Regions from separate parts of the Homo sapiens genome. Here all the other regions are linked to region 5. Evidence: promoter capture Hi-C in 16 types of primary human blood cells and fetal thymus (Javierre and others, 2016). All regions are on one chromosome and are shown on one strand. Each heading gives the region's core, a stretch centred on a gene start or on the middle of the fragment in contact. The rest is flanking DNA. Distances are from core to core; before and after follow the strand shown.

Region 1 (2,700 bases), core at 175-2,674, 1.1 Mb before region 5:
GAGTTTAAGGTCAAGGTTGTAAGTATGAACCGGTCAACGGATATTGGTACTGTTTAAATCCATGGGAACTAATGAAGGCATGGAGGGCGTGAGTCTAGCTGGAAGAGAGGATACAGTCCAGGATGGAGCCTGGGACCCTCCAGGGTTTAAAGGTTGAAAAGGGGTGGGTCGTAGAGCTAGTAATGAATGAGGGAGAGTTACAGGGTGGGGAATGAGAAGGGAAGAGTGTGATTGGATGAAAGCACACGAGGGGTCATAGGAGTGTGTGAGCTTAGCTTGAATTTGATAGCAGGTTTTTTTTTTGTTTTGTTTGTTTTAGGAGGAGCAGGAGAGACATGGTTTGGAGGCCACATTGAGGATGAGGAAAGACATCTTTTGCATCTATAGCTCCTAAAGTACAAGAAGTGCGAAAGGAAGGCTGTCCTTGTTCAACGAGGCTACAGGAAAAGAAGAGGCCTTAGAGGAGAGCTGAGCTTCAGTTCGGGCAAGAAGGTGAAGACGATGTTTGAGAAGTTGCACAAATTGGGAAGAAATTAGGAAGTATGTTGATGTAAGATCTCAGCTGACCACAAATGAAACATGGGGACAACAGGTTCTCAGCTGACCACACATGAAACATAAGTTATGAGGCATTGTCTACTACATCCTGATATCAACCTTGTGGAATAGGTATCACTATGCCCATCTTACAGATGACAAAAAGAAGGCTCAGAGAGGTTCAGTAACTTTCCCAAAGCCACACAGACATCGATGACCGTGCTAGGGCTCAAACCCTGGTCCTCATGACTAGAGAGCCCAGGCTTTTAAAAATGAAATGAGTACATTTCAATACAATACAATGAAAAATCGCTGTAGTACAAAACTGCCAAATAACCTAGAGGAAACCACCTTAACCTGTATCTAAACACAAAGAAAAAATAAATTGACCAGATGAGACACCTACCTATGTAGTTCATGATAAATCCCTGGCCCTTTCCAAAGATGAGGCCAGCAGGGTCCGAATGGAACTGGATGGTTAAGTCTGGCGTGGAGGAGTACAGTTTCTGGGGGCCACTGTTCCCAAGGTACTGCCCCAAGATGTGGGGCATGACCTCGTCGCCATCGTAGATGGTCAAGATGTCACTGTTGCTCAGATTCAGGCTTGGAGGGCAGAGAAGAGGGAGAGTCATGTGAAATAGAGAATGGGCATTCAATAAACCCTTGATTAACTTTTTCAGGCAATACAAAATTTGTTAAGTGTGTATGTGTCAGGCTCCAGGCTATGTGTCTTAACCCCAAGCTGAGGGTAAGATTGACATAGACTGCAAATGTGACACAAAGATTTGTAAGTCATTTTTTTTTTGAGACAGAGTCTCACTCTGTCACCCAGGCTAGAGTGCAGTGGCACTCTCAGCTCGCTGCAATCTCTGCCTTCCAGGTTCAAGCAATTCTCCTGTCTCAGCCTCCCGAGTAGCTGGGACTACAGGTGCATGCTGCTATGTCTGGCTAATTTTTTTTGTATTTAGTAGAGATGGGGTTTCACCGTGTTGCCCAGGCTGGTCTCCAAATCCTGAGCTCAGGCAATCTGCCCACCTCGGCCTCCCAATGTGCTAGGATTACAGGCGTGAGTCACTGTGCCCGGCCGTCAGTTGGGTTTTTGAAGACACATTGATGCAATGGTCTTGGCTGCATGGGACTCATTGCAAAGTCAAATGCTGCATTGTAAGAAGAATCACCTTCAAAACTCCCATTATTGGCAACCATTTCTTAGGTGACATCTCTGTGTTAGGCACCAGGCTACAGGCTGGGGCTATGACCTGCATCTTTCATTCTTCTTCAGTGCAGAACATGCTGACAGCTTGCTAATTACAACTTGCATTTTTATATAAGGTGAAATGATCTTTCCATTTATCACGGGGCAAATTCCTCAGAGTCAACTGAATGATCCATTATGTTTAAGGGGTAGGGCAGAGGTGGGATGGAGGCACCTTACTTATGAGATATGCTCAAACCTGTCACCATTCATACTGTTAAAGGATGACACATTTTCAAAGACTCCAATGCAAGAAAGTACCTTGACACTAAATAATTAAACCACAGTGGATAGTTAATAATCCAGAAATCACTTCACTATACCACAGAAACATGTGCCATCTCAGACATGCTAGATAAAATTGATCTCTAATTGAAAGAATGCCAGATAATTCACCTTTGGCTTCATCAATCATGGACAGATACAAACTCACATTTCTTTCTTTCCTTTCTTCTTTCCCTCTCTCTGTCTTCTTTCTCTCTCATGTCTTTCTCCTTTTCTTGTCTCCTTCTCCTTAATGTTCTTTTTTGTTTGTTTTTTTGAGCATCTACTATGAGCCAGGCACTGTGCTGAGCTCAGAAGGGTCACAGAGTAGTGATCTATTTAGATTTGTAAGCCAGGGATTGTGGCAGGAGTTATAACCAAAGTAAGGACAGAGAAAGTAAGGACAAACTCAGATTAGGGGCATCATGGAAGCATTCCTGCAGTAGGTGATGCTTCTTGCTCTGAAACCTCAAGAAAGAGTAGGAGACCTCGAGGCAGATAAACACAGAGTAGGGAGTCCAGGTGCAGTGGCTTACACCTGTAATCCCAGCACTTTTGGAGGCTGAGGTGGGAGGATTGCTTGAGGCCAGGAGTTCAAGACCATTCTGGGCAACAAAGAGAGACCCTGTCTCTACAAAAAAAAA
Region 2 (2,700 bases), core at 104-2,603, 1.1 Mb before region 5:
TCTTTCTTTCTTTCTTTCTTTCTTTCTTTCTTTCTTTCTTTCTTCTTTCTTTTTTTTTTTTTGAGACAAACTCTTGCTCTGTCACCCAGGCTAGAGTGCAATGGCACGATCTCAGCTCACTGCAACCTCTGCCTCCCAGGTTCAAGTGATTCTCCTGCCTCAGCCTCCTGAGTAGCTGGGATTACAGGTGCCCACCACCGCGCCCAGCTAATTTTTGTATTTTTAGTAGAGATGGGGTTTCACCATCTTGGCCAGGCTGGTCTCGAACTCCTGACCTCGTGATCCACCTGCCTTGGCCTCCCAAAATGTAAGGATTAGAGGCATCAGCCACAGCACTCAGCCAGTTTTGAATTTTCTGAGGAGAGATGGTGGGTAGCAGATGCTTCTCACAGAGCGTGGCAGTCAGTCCAGGAGGAAGGGATGTGAAGAATAGCCCAGGGCCACGATTGAGTAAAGCCCTACACCATGACCAGGGTTTCAAGTCTTGGGAGCCATTTCTATCTTTTATGAGGATCAAAGGAGCTTGAAAAATATTTCCTTCCCAAGCACAGGACGCTTGGTTCCCCCTTCATTTTCAGAGATATAGGAGAGGAAGCAAAAGTGGGACAGGTTATTTGGAACCATCTCACAGATGGCTAAGGGGTTTGTAGGTTCCACAAAAGCTAGGACTACTTTTTGTTTGTTTGCTTTCAGTCACACTACCAGCAACCAGAAGAGCTCCTGGTATGTAGAATGTGCTCAGTAAATATTTACTGAATAACCACGATTAATTTTGCAAAAGAGGAAAAAAGAAGTTCAAAGGTATTACGCCACTTCCTCAAGGACATACACATAATAAGTGGAGCAGTTGAGACTCAAGCTCAGGCTGCCTCACTCCAGTATCTCTTATCGAAGTCACTACTCCACTGTCTGTCTTATTTATGATAACCTGCTAATCCAGAAAGGTATATGGCATATAGTAGTTGCTTTATAAAATGTTTGTTGAATGAAAGAATAAATATTTTTTCCTTTTTGTATCTCTAATATCAGCTCAAAGCTTGATACATAGCAGGTACCCATTAAATGTTTGTTGAATGACAGTATGACTGAATGGGGCTTGCAGTAGCAGAGAACGGTGGATAACTCTTATCTCTGCTCCAGACTGTGTTGTGACCTACAGCAAAGACATTGCCAAGAAGCTCCATACTTCTTTCAGGACCACAGACAGAAAGCTAGGTTCATTTCTCTCTCCAGGCTGCCCTTCTGTCCTAGAGGAGAGATTGTTCTGTGAAATAAGCCAGCCCTAGGTTGAAACCTTGCCAGTCATCTGCTGTGGATCTAAGACAAGTCACATGTTTACCCACTGTAAAATGGTGATAAGTCCACCCTCCTTATAGGACAGTAGTGAGAAATCAATGAAACGATGGGCATGGGGAGCTTCATGCCATCCCTGGCACAGAGTGGGCACTCAAAACATAGCCAGCTCTATTGCCCTGTGGCTCAGGAGCTGAGAAATGGAGGACACTGTCCCTGGTGGGGGGCTCTGGCCATCTGTCCTCCCAAGCTGCTGATCGTTTGCGGCTTCTCTGCTTCCCTTCTTTGCCTGATTAAGCCAACTGATGGCTCTGTTTGGCTTCAATTTGCCAGCCGTGGCTCCCCATCCATCTTTCTTAGCACAAATGGAAGCTTAATTCCTCCCTGATTTCACACATAGATAAAAATTAATGTGAGAGAGGCGTGAAGACCAACTGCCCTATGGTTTGGAATTTTATCTTTGTTTAAAAAAAAGAAAGAAAAATTCTGAAGGGCCTTGGGGGAACAATACTGTAACAATTGAATCTCAGAATTTATCATTAGCTCTCATTTCCTTTTTGAGCTCCACTTGGCTATGAATAACTGGAGGGCAGGAATTATGTCTCATTAGTTCCAATATTCTCTTCACACATGGCTCATAGCCTGGCACATAGTAGGTGGCAGGGCAACCTATACTCTCTCAACCACCATCAGGACTTTTGAGAATTCTAAAAGGGTTTTGCTCTCTTGATAGCTGAAGATGGCCAAGGCTGTGCCCACTGGTGCAGGGACAGTGCGTTACAAACCAGTGCTTCTCCAGGTGTAATGTGCATATGAGTCACCCAAGGGCCATGTTAAAGTGAAAATTTTGATTCATTTGGTTTTGCATGGGGCTCAGGATTATGCATTTCTAATAATTTTGCTAGTCCGAGGACCACACTTTGAGTAAGGAAGCTGTAAGGGGAGGAGCTCAGGAGAGAAGGGATCTGGACTAAGTTCGCCACTTCAAGTATGTTACTTCATCTCTCTAAGCCTCATTCTCTTTGCCTATGAAAGTGGTAATCTTATCTCCCTGAGTTCAAGTGAAATAGTAGATATTGTCCACCTTGATTTCCATGGATCCACTCTGACCATCCTCAATCATTTTTGCCAAATAGAAGTCAGAATGATCACCCTTATGCTTAAATTTTTCCAGATATCTCCTACCTAGTCCACCTGTCTTCTCATGACCTTGAGCAATACAGTTTCTGACCACTGCCCCAGCCTCCTGTCCTGATATTTTCTCTGCAGTTTAGTCAGATTGATCTTATTTATTTATTTGCTTTCTCAAACTCATCGAGTTCCTTCTGACCTCTGAACCTTAGCATGTGCTAGTGCATCTGCCTGGAATGTTTCCCCCTTCTCCCCCCCATTTTCCACCCTCAGTCT
Region 3 (2,700 bases), core at 43-2,542, 1.1 Mb before region 5:
AATGGGCCAGAAGATCTGAGTTCAGCCAGTTTTATTTTTGTCGTGGCCATTTCTCCTGTGATTTTTGCTGATATCTGGAAATCTATTCTCCCAGGGCTAACGTTGTCCTCAACTCCTGAATCTCTCTCCTCCTTTCCTGGCTCTCAGGTAGAATTCTTACAGTCCAAAGCAGCTATATCTCTGTTTGAAGAACTGAAGTGCCTCTGGACAAGGCACTTAATTTTTAGGGCTTGGAATTAACTTAGCACAGAACAGGTTGGCAGCAGCTGAAGAGGACTGTTCTGCAGCTATCAATCATATGGTTACCTGGGTTTGTTATTAGGCCCTTTTATTTCCTGGTTAGAGAACTGTGCTGGGGCTCATAAACAGGGAGCAATGTTGGGAACTCTGCAGAGGAGCAAAGGAAGGCACGCTGGAGCCTGATTGAGACTTTTTCCCTGCAGAGATGGATGTATGTTCGCAGTAGATGTCCAGGAAACGGGGAGCAGGAAACACTTTGAGCCTCAGTTTCTTCTTCTGTAAGATGGAGCTCGGAATTTCTCTCATGTGGAGCACTTCCCTACCGTTTGTGTGTGTGTGTGTGTTTGTGTGTGTGTGTGTGTGTGTGTGTGTGTGTGTGTGTGGTTAAAAACTGGCTTTGGTCTTAGAGACCTGGGTTCAAGTCCTGACTTGGCCACATCCTAATTGTGTGACCTTGGGCAAGCAGTTTCATCTCTCTCAGCCTCAGTTTCTTCATCTGTACAAAGGAGTAGTCACACTGACGTGATGTAGATATTGCATAGGGTACTGATATTGCATTGGAGAGTGAAATGAGTTACTATAGGTAAAAAAAGCATGTAAAGACTGGCACATTGTAAGTACTCAATGAATGTCAGCTGTTGGTCTTTATCATCATCATCATCATCATCATCAATGAGATAATGTGTGCCAGTATTTAGCATAAAGTCTGGGATATAGTAGGGGTAAAAGTAGTGTTAGCTATGGTTATCTGCCTATCTTGTGTCAGAAACCTTATGTTATCTGTTATTTTAATTTTTACATTATTTAATTAATTTACACACCCACCTTCTCTGTCTCTCTCTTTTTAGAAACAGGGTCTCACTATGTTGCCCAAGCTGGTCTCAACACCTGAGCTCAGGTGATTCTCCCACCTCAGCCTCTCAAGTAGCTGGGACCACAGCTGCAAGCCACCATGCCTGGCTAATTTTTAAATTATTTGTAGAGACGGGGTCTTGCTTTGTTGCCCAGGCTGGTCTTGAACTCCTGGGCTCAAGCGATCCTCCCATCTTGGCTTCCAAAAGTGCTGGGATTACACGCATGAGCCACTGTGCCCAGCCTTACCGTCTCTTTCATTCAACAGATATTTATCAAGCACTTTCTTTGTGCCAGACACTGGGGATAAAGTGAACAAAATATCCCATTGTGGGTGCAGGCACCAGCACCTTCAATAATCTGCCTGAGGCCACAGAGCTGGTGAACATCAGGATGCACTTACATGCACCTCTTTTTGACTCTAGGCGCTTTTATGTCTCCTTGGCTGCAAGGCATCTTCAAGGTTGTGGCCCCCGTGCTGAGCTCTTGTGGCCACAAGCAAGTTGTCTTTCTGGTCCTCTCTTGCTGTGTGATACTTGCTAAGTTACCTGCCCACTTGGGGCCCCTCTCGGATCTTCTATTCTACGATGCCTTCACCAATGTTAGTTCCCTTATTCTCCTTTCCGTAATTTATTTTGAGAGTTGGGGAAGGGGTGTGGAGAGAGAATGAATGAGAGAGAGTGAGAGGAGAGCAATATGAAAAGGCCCTTAGGGTTTAAAAGTTTCTGTTCAGTTGTGTTTTTAGAGGAAGAGGCAGATTTCTGATGGAGCTGGGAGGGATACGTGGTGGGTTAGGGAGGCATTTGGGGTGTGAAGAAGGTTTAGCCTGAGGGCTCCTGACTCATCCCAAGTTGGTGCAACCTCCTTCTTTCCTCCAACACCAACAATGTGGGGCAGATGGTTGTAATTGATGCTGTGATTCAGAGCATTCATTTCATGCCTAATGGTCACTGTCATCACTGCTTGAATCCTTTGCTCACGACACTTTTCTCCCATTAACTCCGGGCAACTGGCACTCTTCAAGATTCCTTCTGGATGTCACCTTCTCAGGGATATTTCCATAATTCACGGAGATAAATCTAGTTCCCCTCTACCTCCTCAACTCACCCTCCAAGCCACAGGACTTTGCTTACATTTTGCCAGGCTGTCTGTTTATGGCTATGTGTCCCTTCCTGAACTTTGAGTCCCTACAGGCCTGGGAGCCTTCCCGTGTCGCTGCTACATTGCCGAGACACACAGCTGGTGCCCCGAAAGCTGTTCAAGTCAGTGGAAGTGGAGGCTACGGTGTGTGCTCCGTCTTTACTAGCTGTGTGACCTGAGGAAACCACGTAACCTCTCTGTGCTGTCATACCCAACCCATAAAGTGGTAATGATAATATCTGCCTTATCTGAGGATTCCTGATAATAGTAGTCTCCATTTATGAAGCACCAACTATGTGCCAGATACCATGCAATGTGCTTGGCATACATTATCTCTAATTTGGGTAATTACCCTTCTGTAATTATCTCTACCCACATTAGCTCTCATTTATGTAATTATTATCTCTGCATAATAATGTTCACATTTATTATTGCTCACGGACCTAAACGATGCAGCTCAGGGCCTGC
Region 4 (2,700 bases), core at 87-2,586, 1.0 Mb before region 5:
AGCACATTCAGCCTTAGTTTTGCTAAGTAGAATCTCCATTAGAGTTTTCAAAACACTTCGTTTCTCTCTCAGCCCCCTCCTCTCCCTGCCCATCACTCCTTTCAAAGACTATTAGAGTCAGGGGGACCCCAGATTTGAAACTGGTGGTTTAGTCTATAACCAACTTTTTGAAGGATGCTTTGGAAATAAATGTCACAACCTCAATCAATCAAGTCCACAGGCTCGGAAAGTTTGACTATCTCCTGTTTCCATACCCAGTATTTTAAAAACTTACCTTCCCAGAGAGATCGACCAAATGCATAAATAAATGGAATAAAAAATAAGACAGGGTCTGTTTTGGAGAGCCGCTGGCAATGGCTGAGCCACACTGTGAGAGTCATACATCATTCAGGCATGAGGGAGTTTCAATAATACCCAAGTTCTCAAGCAATTAGAGGGTCGGTCCCCCTCTGTTCAGCTCCAGGAGAACTAATGGGTTGGCCATGCCGAATCTCCAGAGCTGAGCCACACGTTGCACTGCCATCTGCCCTCAAACTCCAAAGGCAATTTGGGCTCAGTGGCAGGTTTAATGGCATGGGTAGATAAAACACTTTCCTGCATCCACCTGGAGGGACAGTCATGGCTGGGAAACTGGTGGACGGGAAGGAGGCTTTTGTGGGCACAGCAGCCTGAGATGCAGATTTCAAGTTGCCCGAGACAGGGGGGCAAGATCCAACCTGAAGTGCAGGGCCAAGGCCAGGCCAAGGCCAGGAGGTGCCTCTGATGTTATGAGAGCATCTTCCAAGGCCGCAAGCCCAGTGACTCATGCAGCTTCATGAAACTTCTCTGTCACTTTGCAGCCAGAGTTTTTCTTACTTGATCTGATCATATTCCTTCTTTTTCCGCTTGGAATTCTCCGATGGCTTCCCCATGGCCCTCCGGATGAAGCAGACTCTTCTCAATGACTGGAGAGTCCTCTATTCTACCCCTCTGTCCTCCTTGGAGATCCATGCTCCAGGTATGAGCTGCTATACTTCCCCAAAAGGGCAAGTTAATTCAAGCCCCTAAGCCTTTTGCTTGTCATTTTCTTGGCTTAGAATGCCTTCTCTTTCTTCCTTGGCCTAGAATGCCTTCCCTCTCTTTCACCTGGCTAATGTCTATTTATCACCTCATCCAGGGACCCTTCCTGGAATGTGTCCATATCTCAAATGCCCTCACCCTACATGCTCCCACAGCCTCGGTGCTTCCCCATCATAGCCTTGTCTCTTTGCCCCTCCAGCCAGGCAACTCTGAGGGCAGCAGCAGTGGCTGTATCTTATATAACACTGTGTTCCTAGTACCTAGCAATGTGTCTGGCCCATGGTGAATATTGAGTAAATGTTTGTTGAATTCATTAATGAAAATTAAGTAGATGAATAAATACATGGATACTCTATGACAGTGGTTCTCAACCAAGAGTGATTTTGTTCCCAGAGGGACATGTTTGCTTGGGGATATGGAGGAGGTGCTACTGGCATCCATTGAGAAGAGGCCAGGGATGCTATTAAACATCATACAATGGGCTTCCCCTTCTCCACCCTCCTGTCCCAAACCAGGGAATATCCAACCCCAAATGCCAATAGTGCCAAATTTGAGAGACTTAGCTCTATGACTAGGTCCTGTTTTCACTACTGTAGGGGATGGAAGAGAAGGCAAAGGCATATTTCCCATTCCCAGTGAACACGCAATATGGTGAGACACACAAAAGCAACATCCGAGAAAGCACTAGGAAACAGAATAAGACACTAACATTTATTGAATTCCTCCCAGTATCAGCCGTTGGGGGTATCTCTACCCTGTTGAACTCCTACTAATCTGTCAAGACTTAGCTTAAATATCACCTCTTCCAGGTAGCCTTCCCTGATACCCGAGGTCATTTCTCTCTGCTACTGCAGTTTTCATCACACTTTCCTGTAATTATTTGTATATGTGGCTGTGTCCCTTCTAGACTGAGGACAGGGGCTGTGCTCTATTTGCCTTTATTTCTCTGGTGCCTAGAGCACAGTATATAGTTTACTAAATGTTTGGGAAAATGAGCTTCAGAAATAGGCCTATTGTGGCTATCAAGCCAGCAGTTGGGTTTCCCCACCTTCTGCTGAGATGCCCAGGCATAGAGATGAGCCCCCAGCCTTATTCATGACCTCATACAGAGGAAGAATGCTGTTCTGGGCTGTCAGTACTTTGTCATTGACTTTGCTGCCAAGCCAGAGAGCAAGACGTTCGTTCTCCCAAGGAGCACGTCAACCAATGAGCTATAAATTAGAAAGGAAAAAAAAGGTCTGCTAATTCCGACCCACTCTATTTTTTACTCGCAGCTGCTAGGGAGGGAATGCACTGGCTTTCAGATGGAACATTTCTTTGGCTTAAGTTCCCCTCTCTCTGCTGGCCCCATTATTTCCTTCCCCCAAGGTCCAGCCTAGCTGGAGCCAAGAGAGCGTGGGCTTTGGGATCACACAAACCTGGGTTCCAATTCGGGCCAATCTGTCTTTCCTGGGAACTTCCCAAGATGCAGCAAGGAGCTAACGTGATGTTTCAGAATGACTCCCCTGCCCCCTCTCTTGGATCCTGACACCCCAGTTTCCACAAGGTGGTCAGGAAGTCCTCTAAAGTGTCAAGTGGCTGATTCACGTCCCCCATGCCATGGCTTCCAATTGCACTAAGAATACAATCAAACTCCTACAT
Region 5 (2,700 bases), core at 142-2,641:
TCAGTCATTCAGCAAACATCCATTGAGCACCTGCCATGGGCCACGTGGACTGAGACAGTGGGATCAGGAGCCCCATTGTACAGAGGGGAACTCTGAGGCTCAGCAAAGTGAGGCCACTTCCTCAAGCACACAGTGAGGAAGTGGCCTGGGTCGGGCCTGGCTCCAAAGCCCGTGCCCTTTTCCCCTGATCCAGATGCTCCCCGAAACCCAGGTTTCTCAGAGCTCTCTGCAGATGTCCCACCCCCAGAACCTGGCTAAAGGGTGGGCTTCAGGGAGTTTCCTCTACAGGGGTCTCTCCCACCTCCGTACTCCAGGAACTCTTTTGTTCACTGGTTACTTTATTCAACAAATATTCCATGAGCACCTACACAGTGCCAGGCTCTGGGCTGGGTGACCAGGAGGGACAGGAGACCCCATATGTCGGGAGGTGGACAGACAGACCTCTAGAGAAAAGGCTTGTAAGACCAGGTCGTTGGACACCTGCTCCAGGTCAGTTTCCCTGCGTTCGGTTACTCATTCCTTAAGCATTTATTGAACACGACTGTGTACCAGCCACTTCAAGACCCAGACACCGACAGTTCTTCATTGCTACAGGGACAGTGACACGCAATACAGGCCCCTGCCGCAGTCACATGGAAGGATTCTCATCATTGTTGCACCCATGGACACACACAGGACTGTTCTGTTTGTCAGCACACACACATAGGTGCACACACTCGCAAAAGTTTCTATGGTCACTATCAGTTATATTTCACCCATGGGCTCACAGGACAGCTTCTTTCTCTCTCTCTCTCTCTCTCCTCACACACACACATCCCTGCCCATTTCAGACATCCACAGTGGTAAACAAGGCACCTACATCTACACCCCACATCCAACTGTTACCCACCCACGGCTCCCAGCACGGCCACCCCAGCATGCACAGCTGCACAGCCCACATACTCTGGATGTGGGCCTAACCATGCACAGCCTGCGGGCTGTCGGTTCTGTCTCTCCTAGCCTCAGCAGGAAACAGGGCTTGGTCCAGCTCACAGGGGACTCTCGGGGGACTTGGCAGGTACCATGTGTGCCCACTCCCCTCCCTCAGAGGAGCTGTTTTGGAAGGTCCCCTGCCCTAAGCACATGTCCAGGGGCTTGGACCCTGGCCACTGCAGACAAGGGTCCCTCGTTCCACCCCCAGCTGGGCTGTCAGGGTCCTCTCACTGGGACCTGACCCTTAAGGGAGGCGCTGTTTTTCTTTGCAGGCGGTCAGCCATGCGCGTCCCACAGAAACTACAAAAGGTCCGGGCCTGCCAGGGTGGCTTTTGCCTCCCCACCCCCAACCCATCCCAGAATGAACCTGTTGCTGTAGCCTCGGGAAGAACAGAGGAGCCACGGCCGTCTGCAGACTCGCCTGTCTTCGCAAGGGGCATGCTATTTATGAGCACTTTCTGACAGCCCAGCACATCCCAGCCTGCTGAGGCAGCACCCTGTCCACCCAATTCCATCCAGGCCACTTCACTCCAATAGCGGGTCCACGGAGGCCCCCAGTGCCTGTCTCCTCAGCCACCGTCTCTGATGACTTCCTGGGGACAGATGAACCTCACTGGCTTTGTGGGAAGCCCAGCAGCGCCAGGCAAGGGGCACGGTGTGCAGCTCTCCCGTGTCTCCCCACAACCACCAACTCCCTTTCTTTGGTTTCTTGGGGTCACCATTTCCTATTGAGTCACACGCAACCTTTGGAAAAATTCTAGTTCTTAAAGTGAGGGACCCCAGACACTCTCCAGTTTCCATGTGCCATGTGGCCTAAGTTTTAAGTCAGATCACGCTAACCATACTCTCCAACTTGGGCGCAAATCCACCCAACCGTTTCCATAGGATGCCGTCACAGAACTCACAGACTGACTTTCTTCATGTAGAAGACACGCACGAATAATAGCTACCATTTCTTGAACACCTACTACACGCAAGGCATTGTGCCAGCTTCACAAGCATTGTATGGAATTCTCATCCAGCCATCCTTAGGGGAGGAATTCTGATTCCACTTTATACATGGAGAAACTGAGTTCAGAGAGGTGAACCCATTTACTCAGAATCACACAGCAGAGAGAAGGGGCTGGCCTGCTCCAGGACCTGGGATCTTAGCCTCAATAGAAATAAAAGTGACCATCACAGTCAACTTATTTATGACCAAAGAAAAAAGGTAGATCCAGGTATTTTTATTTTATTTTTTAGAGATAGGTTGTTGCTACATTGCCCAGGCTGGACTCAAACTCCTGGGCTCAAGCAATCCTTTCTCCTCAGTGTCCTGAATAACCGGAACTACAGGCACGTGCCACTGCACCCAGCTTCCAGGAATTTTTTAAGTGTCTAACAAAGTATAATTTTGCCTGTAATCAATATCTAATAAGTGATTATTTTATGAATAAAATTATATTGGAGCAAAGGAGTGAGTTAACAAGGTTTTCTTTTGTTGTTGTTGGTATTTGTTTTTGGCTAAAATCCTCAAGTCAGCATAAAACCCAGTTACAGGCCGGGCGCGGTGGCTCACGCCTGTAATCCCAACACTCTGGGAGGCCGAGGCAGGCGGATCACGAAGTCAGGAGCTCGAGACCATCCTGGCTAACACGGTGAAACCCTGTCTCTACTAAAAACACAAAAAATTAGCCAGGTGTGGTGGCGGGTGCCTGTAGTCCCAGCTACATGGGAGGCTGAGGCAGG

The links. The method cuts DNA at HindIII sites, captures the fragments that hold promoters and counts their contacts. A CHiCAGO score of 5 or more calls a contact.
Region 1: a fragment that was not itself captured here is called in contact with the fragment with the promoter of CRYBB3 in region 5 in 2 of 17 cell types (M2 macrophages and M1 macrophages); the score reaches 8.2 in M2 macrophages.
Region 2: a fragment that was not itself captured here is called in contact with the fragment with the promoter of CRYBB3 in region 5 in 3 of 17 cell types (M0 macrophages, M2 macrophages and M1 macrophages); the score reaches 7.7 in M0 macrophages.
Region 3: a contact is called between a fragment that was not itself captured here and the fragment with the promoter of CRYBB3 in region 5, in 2 of 17 cell types (M0 macrophages and M2 macrophages). The highest score is 6.6, in M0 macrophages.
Region 4: a contact is called between a fragment that was not itself captured here and the fragment with the promoter of CRYBB3 in region 5, in 1 of 17 cell types (M1 macrophages). The highest score is 5.8, in M1 macrophages.

Annotation. Positions count from the first base shown.
Region 1 is chr22:26,338,876-26,341,575 of GRCh38, reverse strand. It overlaps SEZ6L (seizure related 6 homolog like), which reads right to left. Exons shown (of 17, transcript NM_021115.5): 10 at 944-1,140. Among named protein-coding and RNA genes, the nearest start is that of ASPHD2, 89 kb to the left of the region's middle. The HindIII fragment of the contact is 3,843 bases long and covers 1-2,700 here.
Region 2 is chr22:26,301,714-26,304,413 of GRCh38, reverse strand. All of the region lies in intron 5 of SEZ6L (seizure related 6 homolog like), which reads right to left. Among named protein-coding and RNA genes, the nearest start is that of SEZ6L-AS1, 56 kb to the right of the region's middle. The HindIII fragment of the contact is 629 bases long and covers 1,039-1,667 here.
Region 3 is chr22:26,321,988-26,324,687 of GRCh38, reverse strand. All of the region lies in intron 9 of SEZ6L (seizure related 6 homolog like), which reads right to left. Among named protein-coding and RNA genes, the nearest start is that of SEZ6L-AS1, 77 kb to the right of the region's middle. The HindIII fragment of the contact is 3,742 bases long and covers 1-2,700 here.
Region 4 is chr22:26,234,047-26,236,746 of GRCh38, reverse strand. The region is part of intron 1 of SEZ6L (seizure related 6 homolog like); the gene reads right to left. Among named protein-coding and RNA genes, the nearest start is that of SEZ6L-AS1, 11 kb to the left of the region's middle. The HindIII fragment of the contact is 3,611 bases long and covers 1-2,700 here.
Region 5 is chr22:25,198,549-25,201,248 of GRCh38, reverse strand. CRYBB3 (crystallin beta B3) reads right to left here and starts at 1,391. Exons shown (of 6, transcript NM_004076.5): 1 at 1,340-1,391. The HindIII fragment of the contact is 15,596 bases long and covers 1-2,700 here.